Linked DNA regions of Homo sapiens: region 2 is linked to region 1. Evidence: promoter capture Hi-C in human tissues and cell types (Jung and others, 2019). All regions are on one chromosome and are shown on one strand. The core of a region is centred on a gene start or on the middle of the fragment in contact, and the rest is flanking DNA. Distances in the headings are between cores, read along the strand shown. Region 1 holds the start of CRCT1 (cysteine rich C-terminal 1). Region 2 overlaps FLG (filaggrin).

The links. Contacts are between HindIII fragments. The study calls those that stand out against the background at their distance.
Region 2: a contact is called between a fragment that was not itself captured here and the fragment with the promoter of CRCT1 in region 1, in 2 of the 25 tissues and cell types used here (aorta and bladder).

Annotation. Positions count from the first base shown.
Region 1 is chr1:152,509,508-152,516,841 of GRCh38, reverse strand. It overlaps CRCT1 (cysteine rich C-terminal 1), which reads right to left and starts at 2,360. Exons shown (of 2, transcript NM_019060.3): 1 at 2,290-2,360; 2 at 834-1,480. The coding sequence starts at 1,458. The coding sequence ends at 1,159. It overlaps LCE5A (late cornified envelope 5A), which reads right to left and starts at 6,039. Exons shown (of 2, transcript NM_178438.5): 1 at 5,844-6,039; 2 at 4,665-5,328. The coding sequence starts at 5,307. The coding sequence ends at 4,951. The HindIII fragment of the contact is 6,327 bases long and covers 1-5,367 here.
Region 2 is chr1:152,306,977-152,314,511 of GRCh38, reverse strand. FLG (filaggrin) reads left to right here. Exons shown (of 3, transcript NM_002016.2): 3 at 1-7,535. All of the region lies in intron 3 of CCDST (cervical cancer associated DHX9 suppressive transcript), which reads right to left. Among named protein-coding and RNA genes, the nearest start is that of FLG, 14 kb to the left of the region's middle. The HindIII fragment of the contact is 4,044 bases long and covers 1-3,272 here.

The DNA.
Region 1 (7,334 bases), core at 1,111-3,610:
TCCTCGTGCCTGAAATGAGTGGATAAAATCTGTGCCCACAGGGATAGGTTTCTGACCTATGCAAGATGACCCATCCATTGCCACTGCCACAGCCACCATCTCTAAAGAATGAGATCCCCATGTTTCCGAGCACACATGCTGCACCACAGAGACTCCCAGAAACCCATGGCTGTTGGTCCTGCTTCAGCTGCACAAATGAGACCTGGAGAGGGCAGCTCCCAGTTTCCTGGAAGGCTCATCTTAGGAAAAATTTCCTCCCCAGCAAGCAAAGCAGTAGGTCAATGAACTTCCATGCCAAAAATAAAAAATAAAATAAGACATAAAACTAAAAAAAAAAAAAAAGAAGACAGCTGGCTTGATTCCAAAGCCCCAAAGAGTTGCCAAAACAAACTTTTACCACACAGCTGCCTGGACCTGGTGGTCGGGAGGAGCACCTCAGTGGTAAGGCTTGGGAAGCCCAGGTGAGAACTCAGCAGAGCAATGAAGCCCTTGAATCAGATGTCCTGTCTTCTTTATCATGCGCCAGCTGGGTGACTTTGAACAAATTACTTAACCTCAGTTTCTCTTCTGTAAAATGGGTATAATTGCACTCTCCTACGCAAGTCATTATGAGAATCAGATTGTGCCACATAAAGTCCTGAGAATATTCAAGGACTTTGTCGCATAAAATCCTTAAAATACTCGAAACAGTCGATATGTGATCGCTGCTATCATAATTAACTATCAGAAAGCCACCTTCTTGTTCAGGCATGAATTATAGTATTCTGCCTTTCACAAACATTTCAAGCCTTTCTACCTGGGTGGAGAAACGAATGAAGAACAAATAAAAGGTGTTCTCAGGAGGTAGAAGCTTTATTATGACATCTTCAAAAGACAATCAAATCAATAGACATTTGCTGAGCACCTGCTGTGTGCAAGCCCGTGTAGACAGTAGGGTCCAGTGTCCCACGCATGGCTCTCGAATCCCCGGGGAGAAAAATCACATCGGGGTCAGGGAGTTTTGCGTGGCTGAGAACAAAGTGGGTTTCTGAACATCAAAGTGCAATTCGCTTTACGGGGCAAACTCCGAGGCCCAGCCCCGCGTGGGAGCCGCAGCGGGGCGGGCCCGCTCTGGGCTGGGCGGGTTTCTCTAGCGCAGCGCTGGGGGTTGCGGGCCTCTCAGCAGCCGGAGCAGCATCCTGAGCTCCGGTTGTTGGAGCGCTGGGACCTCTGGCTGCCGCCCCCGCAGCAGCAGCAACCACTACTCCGCTGTCGGCGGCGTCTCCTTGGGAAGCAGCAGCAACTGGTGGAGCTGGAGCCGCAGCAGCCTGAGTCGCCGCAGCAGCCCCTGCCGGAGCCGCAGCAGGAGGAGGAGGAGGCGGGCGCCGGGGTGGGCGCCGGGGCGGGACACGGAGCGGGGCCCTGGGACGACCCCTTGGAAAAGCCTTTGGCGGAAACGGCGCTCTGTTGAGAGGACATCGCGGAGCTCCTCACGACAAACCTGGAAGAAAGGCAGCCTTTCAAAGGCGAGCCGGCTTTTTCTTTCCACCAATGGAACTCTGTCTGGGCTTTTGAGATTCGGCTTAGTGTACAAGTCAGCCTGGCCTGGGACAAGGAGGGAAAAGCACCCAGAAAGAGCGGACGCAAAGAAGCAAATCCAAGCAGGTGTTTCCAGTGAGTTAAACATGCTCAGAGCAGGACACAATCCATGCAATGAATCAATGCATTTCCATTTTCTCTGACTAGAAGAAGACTGCTCAAGTTCTCCACAGTGGAAAATAAACAGCACACTGCGGCAACTTATCTGTATGATCCAGTCCAAAATCTCCACTTGGCTTTTTTCTTGTCCCTCATTTTACTTTCCTACCGACCTTCGACTGTATCTTCCTAGTTACTACACCCCCATCAGTTAGAAAACACCCAAGTCCAACAGGCGGTCCCACCTGCTGGGTCTAAATAATCCACAGGCCAGAAGCATGTCCTGATCATTCTTTCTTGCCTACGCCTCTCATGCCCCACAACCATGTGGGAAAGGAGAGTTGTGCCAATATAAATAACCCCATCCAGGGAGCTGAAAGACCTGGGTTCTAGTCACAGCTCTTCTGCGGACTTGCTGTGTACCCTTGCAAAAACCACCTCCTATGTTGCCTTTATGTCCTCATTAGTACCTTAAGAGGTTGGCTCACTAGAAGCGTAGGTGCCTTGCGGGACACCCCTTCCACATCTATCTGCTGCCTGTGTTCTGTTTGCTCCTCCCCTGTGCCCTCAACTCATCCCACCCTCTCCCCCAGACCCTGCTAGGAGACTTACCAGACCCTGGCTCCACTGAAAGACTCACTACGTTCTCCAACTGGAATGGGCCACCTGCTAGGCAGTGGATTGAGCAGCGTCCAGCCAGAGAACCTTTTTATAAGAAGTATTCAGGTTCAGGCTCTTGGGAGGGGCCCATTTCCCAACAGACGTGCTCAGCTGACACTCACATCCCAGAGACATTCATCACTCAGGTAGCATTGTAGGTGGTGCATGTGGGCATCTAAGTCACTTCACAGAGGTGCCAGGATTGCTATGGCATGTTTACTTTCCAAACAGGGCACTGTTTGTACCTGGGAGGCTGTGTGTATGCTAAGAGAGGGCATGGGGCTCAAATGCAGGGAGGTCTGGAACCCCTGCCCTTGTCTTCAATACACACACACACACACACACACACACACACACACACACACACAGACGGCTCCACTTGCCCACACATCCATTCCTATGTAGTCATCTACTTGGTAGGTGGTAGTTCACCTATTTTTATCTTGATTCTCATCTCTCTGGCTCTTGGTCCTTGGCTCCCCAGGGCAGACCACAAGCTATGCGATAAGCCTGCTGGGTTTCATCCATATGCTTCAAGATGCAGTGAGTGAAGATGATGACGGGGATGCACCTTTGGGAACCCCAGGGGTGATTTCTCTCTGTCACTGGAGACAGGAAGAAAAACCTAGGCAAAGTTAAGGAACCATAAGACCAGAAAAGTTGTGAATGTAGTCAGGTTGCCATATCCCCATAATACAGCATGGTATGACAAAGAGAAAAATGTGTGCAGGACAGTGGCCCAATTGCAAAAAGGCTAGTCAGCCTGTGGGACTCCTGCTTCTTATCCCACCCCCAACCACCAATCTGCCTTTGAAGATAAGTTCTCCCTAGGGCCACTGCCCAGTGCAAAAGAAAATGGGAAAGGAAGAAGGGAGGGAGGGAAAGAAGAAAAAAAAGAGAAAGAAAGAAAGAAAGTTCTTTCCAAAGGTCCAAAGTGTTCATGATAGATAGTGTTTTCAGAATAACTAATTTTTAAGAATTGGAGGATACTTTGGCAGTCAACTTCAGAACTGCTTCTTAATCAAATTGCCCACAACTGTGAATGTGAACTATAACAGAAGTCCAAGACTAAGAATTCAGGAATTAAGGATGAGAGACAGGTTTGGGGGCGAGTGAGCTGGGAGTGGCTCAAGGGACTAGGCGAGGAAAGATAAGTCACAAAAGATACCAGTTTCATTTAACATGGATTTAGAGCCTGATTAACAGGTTGCCAGTTCCTAGAGCACCTGTTGGTGAGTATAGGTGAGACATTCCAAAAAGTAAAGTCAATATTAGAACAGAGAAGGAAGTAATGAAATAACAAGACAGAGGCAGGATCTCCTCTGGGAAAATGGGCAAAGTTCTTTTAAAAAAAAAAAAAAAGAATGAAGAACGTTTGGTAGGAATCAGTATAAGGAGATAATCTGGGCAAGTGCCTACTCATTCTGTGGGCATCCTATGATCTCATAAACCAGCTTACTTTATTTATCGCTATTAACTCTTATCAAAGGAGGCATCAATTGTTTATCTTTTATATTAAAGGCTGATTTGGAATTAACTTTTCTAGTTATCTTTTCTAGGTACATTATGAGTGTCTCCTGAAGGAACCAGCCCATTCCTAAAGAAATGTTGCTTGGAAAACCCAACACAGGGACCAAAACCCCTGTACTCTTATACCTCTCACTGCACACACACACACACACACACACACACACACACACACGTACGTCCCAACCACATAGAGACAGTCTTTGCAAAGAAGGGTGTCTTTCTCAGTTCTTTACCCAGATTCAAATCCAGGATTTCAGCATGCAGGGAAAATGTGCTCAGACGTTTCATATCTGCCTCCAAAACTCACTCACTGCCCACCCAGCTCTCCCTCTAGCCAACTGATGGAAACACCTGAGCTTATAATAATCAGAAAAGTAAAGAGTGTCCATTTATTAGAGCCCAGGATGAGCACTTCAGGCAATCTTATTCCCCATGAATGGGGACAAGCAATTTTTCAAACTGTGACCCATGCTTGAAGGAAACCCTCTCAGAACCTGAACCTTTTGAGTACAACCATCCTCTTCTCTTCAAACCCATTCCTGGCTCTCCTCATACAATCTTGTGTCTGGCGTAATGGTCTCAGACATTATTCTTTCCTTCAAGCTTAAAGTTCCAGAATCCAGTGCATAGAAGGAAATATTGTTTTCCAGAGGCCTAAGTAGCTTCACTGCCAAAATGTGCTTCCTAAACAAGTTTGTAAAGTGTTCGCTTGCATTTAAGAGAAGGGAAGGGAAGATGGCTTGATGCAGCAGGTAGGGAGTGGGAGAGGCAAACAATGAAATCAGGAGGCAGTGATATCAGGAATAAAAAGCTTTATTGTTACAGAGAAAATAGCTTCATAACTGAATTACAACACCTAGTTCTCCAAAGAGCTATGTCTGAGAGGGAAAGCCAGGCCAGAAAATATCACAAGCTAGACTTCAACCCTACAATGGAGTGAACATGGGCAGGATAAAGAGGGGAACTTAAGGCATTTCCGAAGTCCTTCCATGGGAAATGAGAGAAAAGAAGCCTCAGGCTGACACACATCTTCAGCACCTGGGATCTGCCAGTCCTTCTCCTCCGTGCTCCTCATGGCCCAGGTCAGCAGCAGCCTCCAGAGCTGTGGCAGCAGCCAGAGCCCCCAGAGCTGTGGCAGCAGCTGGAGCCCCCAGACTGCTGGCCACTGCCACTGCCACAGCAGCTGGAACTCTGAGGTCGGCGTCGGAGGGACTGGCGGGGCCTGTGGTGGCTCAGGCAGCAGCCACCACCCTCAGAGCTGCAGCAGCCCCCAGAGCTGGAACCACAGCAGGAAGAGACTGGAGGTGGGCATGGGGCTGAACACTGGGGAGGGCATTTTGGGGGACACTTGGGAGGACACTTAGGAGTACACTTGGGAGGGCATTTAGGGGTACATTTGGGAGGAGGCTGGCACTGCTGCTGGCTCTGCTGGCAGGACATCTCTGTAGAAGCTGAATAAAGCTGAAAGACAATACAAGCCCAAGGTCACTTCCTTGCCCTTAAAATTGAACTATAATTTCACAAGATTTTATCTCTAAGATGACCAGAATTTATTATTATGATTATTATTATTATTTGGGATGGAGTCTCACTCTGTCACTCAGGCTGGAGTGCAGTGGTGCTATCTCGGCTCACTGCAACCTCCACCTCCCGGATTCAAGTGATTCTCCTGCCTCAGACAGGTGTGCACCACCACACCCAGCTAATTTTTGTGTTTTTAGTAGAGACGGGATTTCAGCATGTTGGTCAGTCTCGAACTCCTGACCTCTTGACCCGCCCACCTCAGCCTCCCAAAGTGCTGGGATTACAGGCATGAGCCACTACTCCTGGCCTAAGATGAACCAGATTTTAAAAACCCAGTCTCCCAAGACCAGTAACAAGAATGATACAAATGATTTCCACCTAGTAACTCCATATTTTCAAATGAATAACTTGGAACTTCAGAAAGGCATCAGTCCTTCATTCCTTTTACCTACCTTCCACCCTCCCCTTCCAGAAGAACCTTCCCCTCCAAAATCCTTCTTTATCCTTGTCTTTCTTCAAGAATGGCCTCAACCTCCACCCAGGGGCTCTTTCTGCCCAAAACACCAGCACCAAGAGTTCATCCTGGTCCTGAGAAGCACTCTACCTGGTTCAGGCACTGCAGCAGATCACTCAGGAGACAGGTAGACTGAGGTGCTGTCAGAAGCTTCTGCCTTTTATACAATTCAGTCCTGACCTAGCATCAGGAGGTGCAGACCATGTGCGGGACGCTAGAAGCATCTTTCATAAAGGCATGGGTGACTCCCTCCCCTCGCATCCCAGGGACCCAGTTCCTCCCTGCATAAGCATCTCAAGTATTAACCCACAGGAAGATCCCCTGAGAACTGCAGGCCTCTAGGATGGTGAGGGAGCTCTGTGAATTGCACATGGCACCTATCTATCTCACAGGCAGCTCTGCTATGCCTTCTATTTTCTGAGCTGGGCCAATACGGCTCTACACCTCTGGAATGAACAGAAGTTCTGTTTTCTCTTTGGTATAGGAACTGAAGGAGAAAATTCCCAAGATGGAAATTAAATGGCCCTTTTTAGAATAATAATAGAGATCCAAAATAAAATTGTAGGCCCAAGCAAATAATCTAACATGATTTTTTTTTCATTTCTAGATGATGCCATAACCAGAACAAGGAAGGTTTGATATCTCAGTGATGTTATTTTAGGCAGATCTAATGCTGACAGTGTGGGTGGTTGGGCTTCTCTCCTTGCCTGAATTTGATGCTCCAAAACTGCTCACAAACAGTACCGATTCAGCACTAACAATGCCTTTAAAAGGGCAGAAGTCTAGGAATGGCTTATTTACTCGTGTTAAAGAAGGTGCCCTTGGCCAGCTCGAGGTGAGGCAGCAAAGACCAGGTGTATACTGAGGGTGGAGCAAAAGCTCTCCACTCATCTGGAGGTTTCCAGAAGTGAGGCACCAGTTCTGGTCATTCATAAGAGAAGAGCATCCAACCTGGGAAGGACCTCAGGAGAAGATTAATCTTTGGATGGAGAGGTGAAGAGGAGGAGTATATAGGTTTTAAAAGCCCATGGTGGGATCCAAAACATTTTCTCAGCAAACAATATTCTGAGGGAAAGTTGGGTCCCCAGGATAGTTATCAAAATTGACTTAGCTGGAAAGGGTGGCCAAAATATGGCATATTCACAATGAAAGCTGCAGTGAGAGAAAATAAGACTGGGAGAAAAAGGCAGTACCTTAGCTCCATGCTCTTTGAAATGGGCTGCAGTGAGAAGCATCAGCCCAGTTATAACACAGACCCTGGAGAGGGACATCCAGCATCAGTTCCCACCCTTGCTCTCTCCACCTGTGCAACCTCTGGCAAGTTACTTAACCATCACTGGAAAAGGGGGCTGAAAACATTCCTAATCCACTGAATAAAGAAATACAGATGAAGTTCTTAGCACAGTTCCTAGAACTGCAAGTTTAAAAA
Region 2 (7,535 bases), core at 1-2,500, 200 kb after region 1:
CTCAAGTCTGGAAAGAAGAAACAATAGAAAAGGGAATAAGGGAAGATCCAAGAGCCCAAGAGAAACAGGGGGGAAAAGGCATGAATCTAGTTCTGAAAAAAAAGAAAGAAAAGGATATTCACCTACTCATAGAGAAGAAGAATATGGAAAAAACCATCATAACTCAAGTAAAAAAGAGAAAAACAAGACTGAAAATACTAGATTAGGAGACAATAGGAAGAGGCTAAGTGAAAGACTTGAAGAGAAAGAAGACAATGAAGAAGGAGTATATGATTATGAAAATACAGGAAGAATGACTCAAAAATGGATACAATCAGGCCATATTGCCACATATTACACAATCCAGGATGAAGCCTATGACACCACTGATAGTCTATTAGAAGAAAACAAAATATATGAAAGATCAAGGTCATCTGATGGCAAATCATCATCTCAAGTGAACAGGTCAAGACATGAAAATACAAGCCAGGTACCATTGCAGGAGTCCAGGACAAGAAAGCGTAGGGGATCCAGAGTTAGCCAGGACAGGGACAGTGAGGGACACTCAGAAGACTCTGAGAGGCACTCTGGGTCGGCTTCCAGAAACCATCATGGATCTGCGTGGGAGCAGTCAAGAGATGGCTCCAGACACCCCAGGTCCCATGATGAAGACAGAGCCAGTCATGGGCACTCTGCAGACAGCTCCAGACAATCAGGCACTCGTCACGCAGAGACTTCCTCTCGTGGACAGACTGCATCATCCCATGAACAGGCAAGATCAAGTCCAGGAGAAAGACATGGATCCGGCCACCAGCAGTCAGCAGACAGCTCCAGACACTCAGCCACTGGGCGCGGGCAAGCTTCATCTGCAGTCAGCGATCGTGGACACCGGGGGTCTAGCGGTAGTCAGGCCAGTGACAGTGAGGGACATTCAGAAAACTCAGACACACAATCAGTGTCAGGCCACGGAAAGGCTGGGCTGAGACAGCAGAGCCACCAAGAGTCCACACGTGGCCGGTCAGGGGAACGGTCTGGACGTTCAGGGTCTTCCCTCTACCAGGTGAGCACTCATGAACAGCCTGACTCTGCCCATGGACGGACCGGGACCAGCACTGGAGGAAGACAAGGATCGCACCACGAGCAGGCACGAGACAGCTCCAGGCATTCAGCGTCCCAAGAGGGTCAGGACACCATTCGTGGACACCCGGGGTCAAGCAGAGGAGGAAGGCAGGGATCCCACCACGAGCAATCGGTAAATAGGTCTGGACACTCAGGTTCCCATCACAGCCACACCACATCCCAGGGAAGGTCTGATGCCTCCCATGGGCAGTCAGGATCCAGAAGTGCAAGCAGACAAACACGAAATGAGGAACAATCAGGAGACGGCACCAGGCACTCAGGGTCACGTCATCATGAAGCTTCCTCTCAGGCTGACAGCTCTAGACACTCACAGGTGGGCCAGGGACAATCATCGGGGCCCAGGACAAGTAGGAACCAGGGATCCAGTGTTAGCCAGGACAGTGACAGTCAGGGACACTCAGAAGACTCTGAGAGGTGGTCTGGGTCTGCTTCCAGAAACCATCATGGATCTGCTCAGGAGCAGTCAAGAGATGGCTCCAGACACCCCAGGTCCCATCACGAAGACAGAGCTGGTCATGGGCACTCTGCAGACAGCTCCAGAAAATCAGGCACTCGTCACACACAGAATTCCTCTAGTGGACAGGCTGCGTCATCCCATGAACAGGCAAGATCAAGTGCAGGAGAAAGACATGGATCCCGCCACCAGCTCCAGTCAGCAGACAGCTCCAGACACTCAGGCACTGGGCACGGACAAGCTTCATCTGCAGTCAGAGACAGTGGACACCGAGGGTCCAGTGGTAGTCAGGCCACTGACAGTGAGGGACATTCAGAAGACTCAGACACACAGTCAGTGTCAGGCCATGGACAGGCTGGTCACCATCAGCAGAGCCACCAAGAGTCCGCACGTGACCGGTCAGGGGAAAGGTCTCGACGTTCAGGGTCTTTCCTCTACCAGGTGAGCACTCATAAACAGTCTGAGTCCTCCCATGGATGGACAGGGCCCAGCACTGGAGTAAGACAAGGATCCCACCATGAGCAGGCACGAGACAACTCCAGGCACTCAGCATCCCAAGATGGTCAGGACACCATTCGTGGACACCCGGGGTCAAGCAGAAGAGGAAGGCAGGGGTCCCACCACGAGCAATCGGTAGATAGGTCTGGACACTCAGGGTCCCATCACAGCCACACCACATCCCAGGGAAGGTCTGATGCCTCCCGTGGGCAGTCAGGATCCAGAAGTGCAAGCAGAACAACACGTAATGAGGAACAATCAAGAGACGGCTCCAGGCACTCAGGGTCACGTCACCATGAAGCTTCCTCTCATGCCGACATCTCTAGACACTCACAGGCAGGCCAGGGACAATCAGAGGGGTCCAGGACAAGCAGGCGCCAGGGATCCAGTGTTAGCCAGGACAGTGACAGTGAGGGACATTCAGAAGACTCTGAGAGGTGGTCTGGGTCTGCTTCCAGAAACCATCGTGGATCTGCTCAGGAGCAGTCAAGACATGGCTCCAGACACCCCAGGTCCCATCACGAAGACAGAGCCGGTCACGGGCACTCTGCAGACAGCTCCAGACAATCAGGAACTCCTCACGCAGAGACTTCCTCTGGTGGACAGGCTGCGTCATCCCATGAACAGGCAAGATCAAGTCCAGGAGAAAGACACGGATCCCGCCACCAGCAGTCAGCAGACAGCTCCAGACACTCAGGCATTCCGCGCAGACAAGCTTCATCTGCAGTCAGAGACAGTGGACACTGGGGGTCCAGTGGTAGTCAGGCCAGTGATAGTGAGGGACATTCAGAGGAGTCAGACACACAGTCAGTGTCAGGCCATGGACAGGATGGGCCCCATCAGCAGAGCCACCAAGAGTCCGCACGTGACTGGTCAGGGGGAAGGTCTGGACGTTCAGGGTCTTTCATCTACCAGGTGAGCACTCATGAACAGTCTGAGTCTGCCCATGGGCGGACCAGGACCAGCACTGGACGAAGACAAGGATCCCACCACGAGCAGGCACGAGACAGCTCCAGGCACTCAGCGTCCCAAGAGGGTCAGGACACCATTCGTGCACACCCGGGGTCAAGGAGAGGAGGAAGGCAGGGATCCCACCATGAGCAATCGGTAGATAGATCTGGACACTCAGGGTCCCATCACAGCCACACCACATCCCAGGGAAGGTCTGATGCCTCCCATGGGCAGTCAGGATCCAGAAGTGCAAGCAGACAAACTCGTAAGGACAAACAATCAGGAGACGGCTCCAGGCACTCAGGGTCACGTCACCATGAAGCTGCCTCTTGGGCTGACAGCTCTAGACACTCACAGGTGGGACAGGAACAATCATCGGGGTCCAGGACAAGCAGGCACCAGGGATCCAGTGTTAGCCAGGACAGTGACAGTGAGAGACACTCAGACGACTCCGAGAGGTTGTCTGGGTCTGCTTCCAGAAACCATCATGGATCTTCTCGGGAGCAGTCAAGAGATGGCTCCAGACACCCTGGGTTCCATCAAGAAGACAGAGCCAGTCACGGGCACTCTGCAGACAGCTCCAGACAATCAGGCACTCATCACACAGAGTCTTCCTCTCATGGACAGGCTGTGTCATCCCATGAACAGGCAAGATCAAGTCCAGGAGAAAGACATGGATCCCGCCACCAGCAGTCAGCAGACAGCTCCAGACACTCAGGCATTGGGCACAGACAAGCTTCATCTGCAGTCAGAGACAGTGGACACCGAGGGTCCAGTGGTAGTCAGGTCACTAACAGTGAGGGACATTCAGAAGACTCAGACACACAGTCAGTGTCAGCCCACGGACAAGCTGGGCCCCATCAGCAGAGCCACAAAGAGTCCGCACGTGGCCAGTCAGGGGAAAGCTCTGGACGTTCAAGGTCTTTCCTCTACCAGGTGAGCTCTCATGAACAGTCTGAGTCCACACACGGACAGACTGCACCCAGCACTGGAGGAAGACAAGGATCCCGCCATGAGCAGGCACGAAACAGCTCTAGGCACTCAGCATCCCAAGACGGTCAGGACACCATTCGTGGACACCCGGGGTCAAGCAGAGGAGGAAGGCAGGGATCCTACCACGAGCAATCAGTAGATAGGTCTGGACACTCAGGGTACCATCACAGCCACACCACACCCCAGGGAAGGTCTGATGCCTCCCATGGGCAGTCAGGACCCAGAAGTGCAAGCAGGCAAACAAGAAATGAGGAACAATCAGGAGACGGCTCCAGGCACTCAGGGTCACGTCACCATGAACCTTCCACTCGGGCCGGCAGCTCTAGACACTCACAGGTGGGCCAGGGAGAATCAGCGGGGTCCAAGACAAGCAGGCGCCAGGGATCCAGTGTTAGTCAGGACAGGGACAGTGAGGGACACTCAGAAGACTCTGAGAGGCGGTCTGAGTCGGCTTCCAGAAACCATTATGGATCTGCTCGGGAGCAGTCAAGACATGGCTCCAGGAACCCCAGGTCCCATCAAGAAGATAGAGCCAGTCATGGGCACTCTGCAGAGAGCTCCAGACAATCAGGCACTCGTCATGCAGAGACTTCCTCTGGTGGACAGGCTGCATCATCCCAGGAACAGGCAAGGTCAAGTCCAGGAGAAAGACATGGATCCCGCCACCAGCAGTCAGCAGACAGCTCCACAGACTCAGGCACTGGGCGCAGACAAGATTCATCTGTAGTCGGAGACAGTGGAAACCGAGGGTCCAGTGGTAGCCAGGCCAGTGACAGCGAGGGACACTCAGAAGAGTCAGACACACAGTCAGTGTCAGCCCACGGACAGGCTGGGCCCCATCAGCAGAGCCACCAAGAGTCCACACGTGGCCAGTCAGGGGAAAGGTCTGGACGTTCAGGGTCTTTCCTCTACCAGGTGAGCACTCATGAACAGTCTGAGTCCGCCCATGGACGCACAGGGCCCAGCACTGGAGGAAGACAAAGATCCCGCCACGAGCAGGCACGAGACAGCTCCAGGCACTCAGCGTCCCAAGAGGGTCAGGACACCATTCGTGGACACCCAGGGTCAAGCAGAGGAGGAAGGCAGGGATCCCACTATGAGCAATCGGTAGATAGTTCTGGACACTCAGGGTCTCATCACAGCCACACCACGTCCCAGGAAAGGTCTGATGTCTCCCGTGGGCAGTCAGGATCCAGAAGTGTCAGCAGACAAACACGTAATGAGAAACAATCAGGAGACGGCTCCAGGCACTCAGGGTCGCGTCACCATGAAGCTTCCTCTCGGGCCGACAGCTCTAGACACTCGCAGGTGGGCCAGGGACAATCATCAGGGCCCAGGACAAGCAGGAACCAGGGATCCAGTGTTAGCCAGGACAGTGACAGTCAGGGACACTCAGAAGACTCTGAGAGGTGGTCTGGGTCTGCTTCCAGAAACCATCTTGGATCTGCTTGGGAGCAGTCAAGAGATGGCTCCAGACACCCTGGGTCCCATCACGAAGACAGAGCCGGTCACGGGCACTCTGCAGACAGCTCCAGACAATCAGGCACTCGTCACACAGAGTCTTCCTCTCGTGGACAGGCTGCGTCATCCCATGAACAGGCAAGATCAAGTGCAGGAGAAAGACATGGATCCCACCACCAGCTCCAGTCAGCAGACAGCTCCAGACACTCAGGCATTGGGCATGGACAAGCTTCATCTGCAGTCAGAGACAGTGGACACCGAGGGTACAGTGGTAGTCAGGCCAGTGACAGTGAGGGACATTCAGAAGACTCAGACACACAGTCAGTGTCAGCACAGGGAAAAGCTGGGCCCCATCAGCAGAGCCACAAAGAGTCCGCACGTGGCCAGTCAGGGGAAAGCTCTGGACGTTCAGGGTCTTTCCTCTACCAGGTGAGCACTCATGAACAGTCTGAGTCCACCCATGGACAGTCTGCGCCCAGCACTGGAGGAAGACAAGGATCCCATTATGATCAGGCACAAGACAGCTCCAGGCACTCAGCATCCCAAGAGGGTCAGGACACCATTCGTGGACACCCGGGGCCAAGCAGAGGAGGAAGACAGGGGTCCCACCAAGAGCAATCGGTAGATAGGTCTGGACACTCAGGGTCTCATCACAGCCACACCACATCCCAGGGAAGGTCTGATGCCTCCCGTGGGCAGTCAGGATCCAGAAGTGCAAGCAGAAAAACATATGACAAGGAACAATCAGGAGATGGCTCTAGGCACTCAGGGTCGCATCATCATGAAGCTTCCTCTTGGGCCGACAGCTCTAGACACTCACTGGTGGGCCAGGGACAATCATCAGGGCCCAGGACAAGCAGGCCCCGGGGATCCAGTGTTAGCCAGGACAGTGACAGTGAGGGACACTCAGAAGATTCTGAGAGGCGGTCTGGGTCTGCGTCCAGAAACCATCATGGATCTGCTCAGGAGCAGTCAAGAGATGGCTCCAGACACCCCAGGTCCCATCACGAAGACAGAGCCGGTCATGGGCACTCTGCAGAGAGCTCCAGACAATCAGGCACTCATCATGCAGAGAATTCCTCTGGTGGACAGGCTGCATCATCCCATGAACAGGCAAGATCAAGTGCAGGAGAGAGACACGGATCCCACCACCAGCAGTCAGCAGACAGCTCCAGACACTCAGGCATTGGGCACGGACAAGCTTCATCTGCAGTCAGAGACAGTGGACACCGAGGGTCCAGTGGTAGTCAGGCCAGTGACAGTGAGGGACATTCAGAAGACTCAGACACACAGTCAGTGTCAGCCCACGGACAGGCTGGGCCCCATCAGCAGAGCCACCAAGAGTCCACACGTGGCCGGTCAGCAGGAAGGTCTGGACGTTCAGGGTCTTTCCTCTACCAGGTGAGCACTCATGAACAGTCTGAGTCCGCCCATGGACGGACCGGGACCAGCACTGGAGGAAGACAAGGATCCCACCACAAGCAGGCACGAGACAGCTCCAGGCACTCAACGTCCCAAGAGGGTCAGGACACCATTCATGGACACCCGGGGTCAAGCAGTGGAGGAAGGCAGGGATCCCACTACGAGCAATTGGTAGATAGATCTGGACACTCAGGGTCTCATCACAGCCACACCACATCCCAGGGAAGGTCTGATGCCTCCCATGGGCACTCAGGATCCAGAAGTGCAAGCAGACAAACTCGTAACGATGAACAATCAGGAGACGGCTCCAGGCACTCAGGGTCGCGTCACCATGAAGCTTCCTCTCGGGCCGACAGCTCTGGACACTCGCAGGTGGGCCAGGGACAATCAGAGGGGCCCAGGACAAGCAGGAACTGGGGATCCAGTTTTAGCCAGGACAGTGACAGTCAGGGACACTCAGAAGACTCTGAGAGGTGGTCTGGGTCTGCTTCCAGAAACCATCATGGATCTGCTCAGGAGCAGCTAAGAGATGGCTCCAGACACCCCAGGTCCCATCAAGAAGACAGAGCTGGTCATGGGCACTCTGCAGACAGCTCCAGACAATCAGGCACTCGTCACACACAGACTTCCTCTGGTG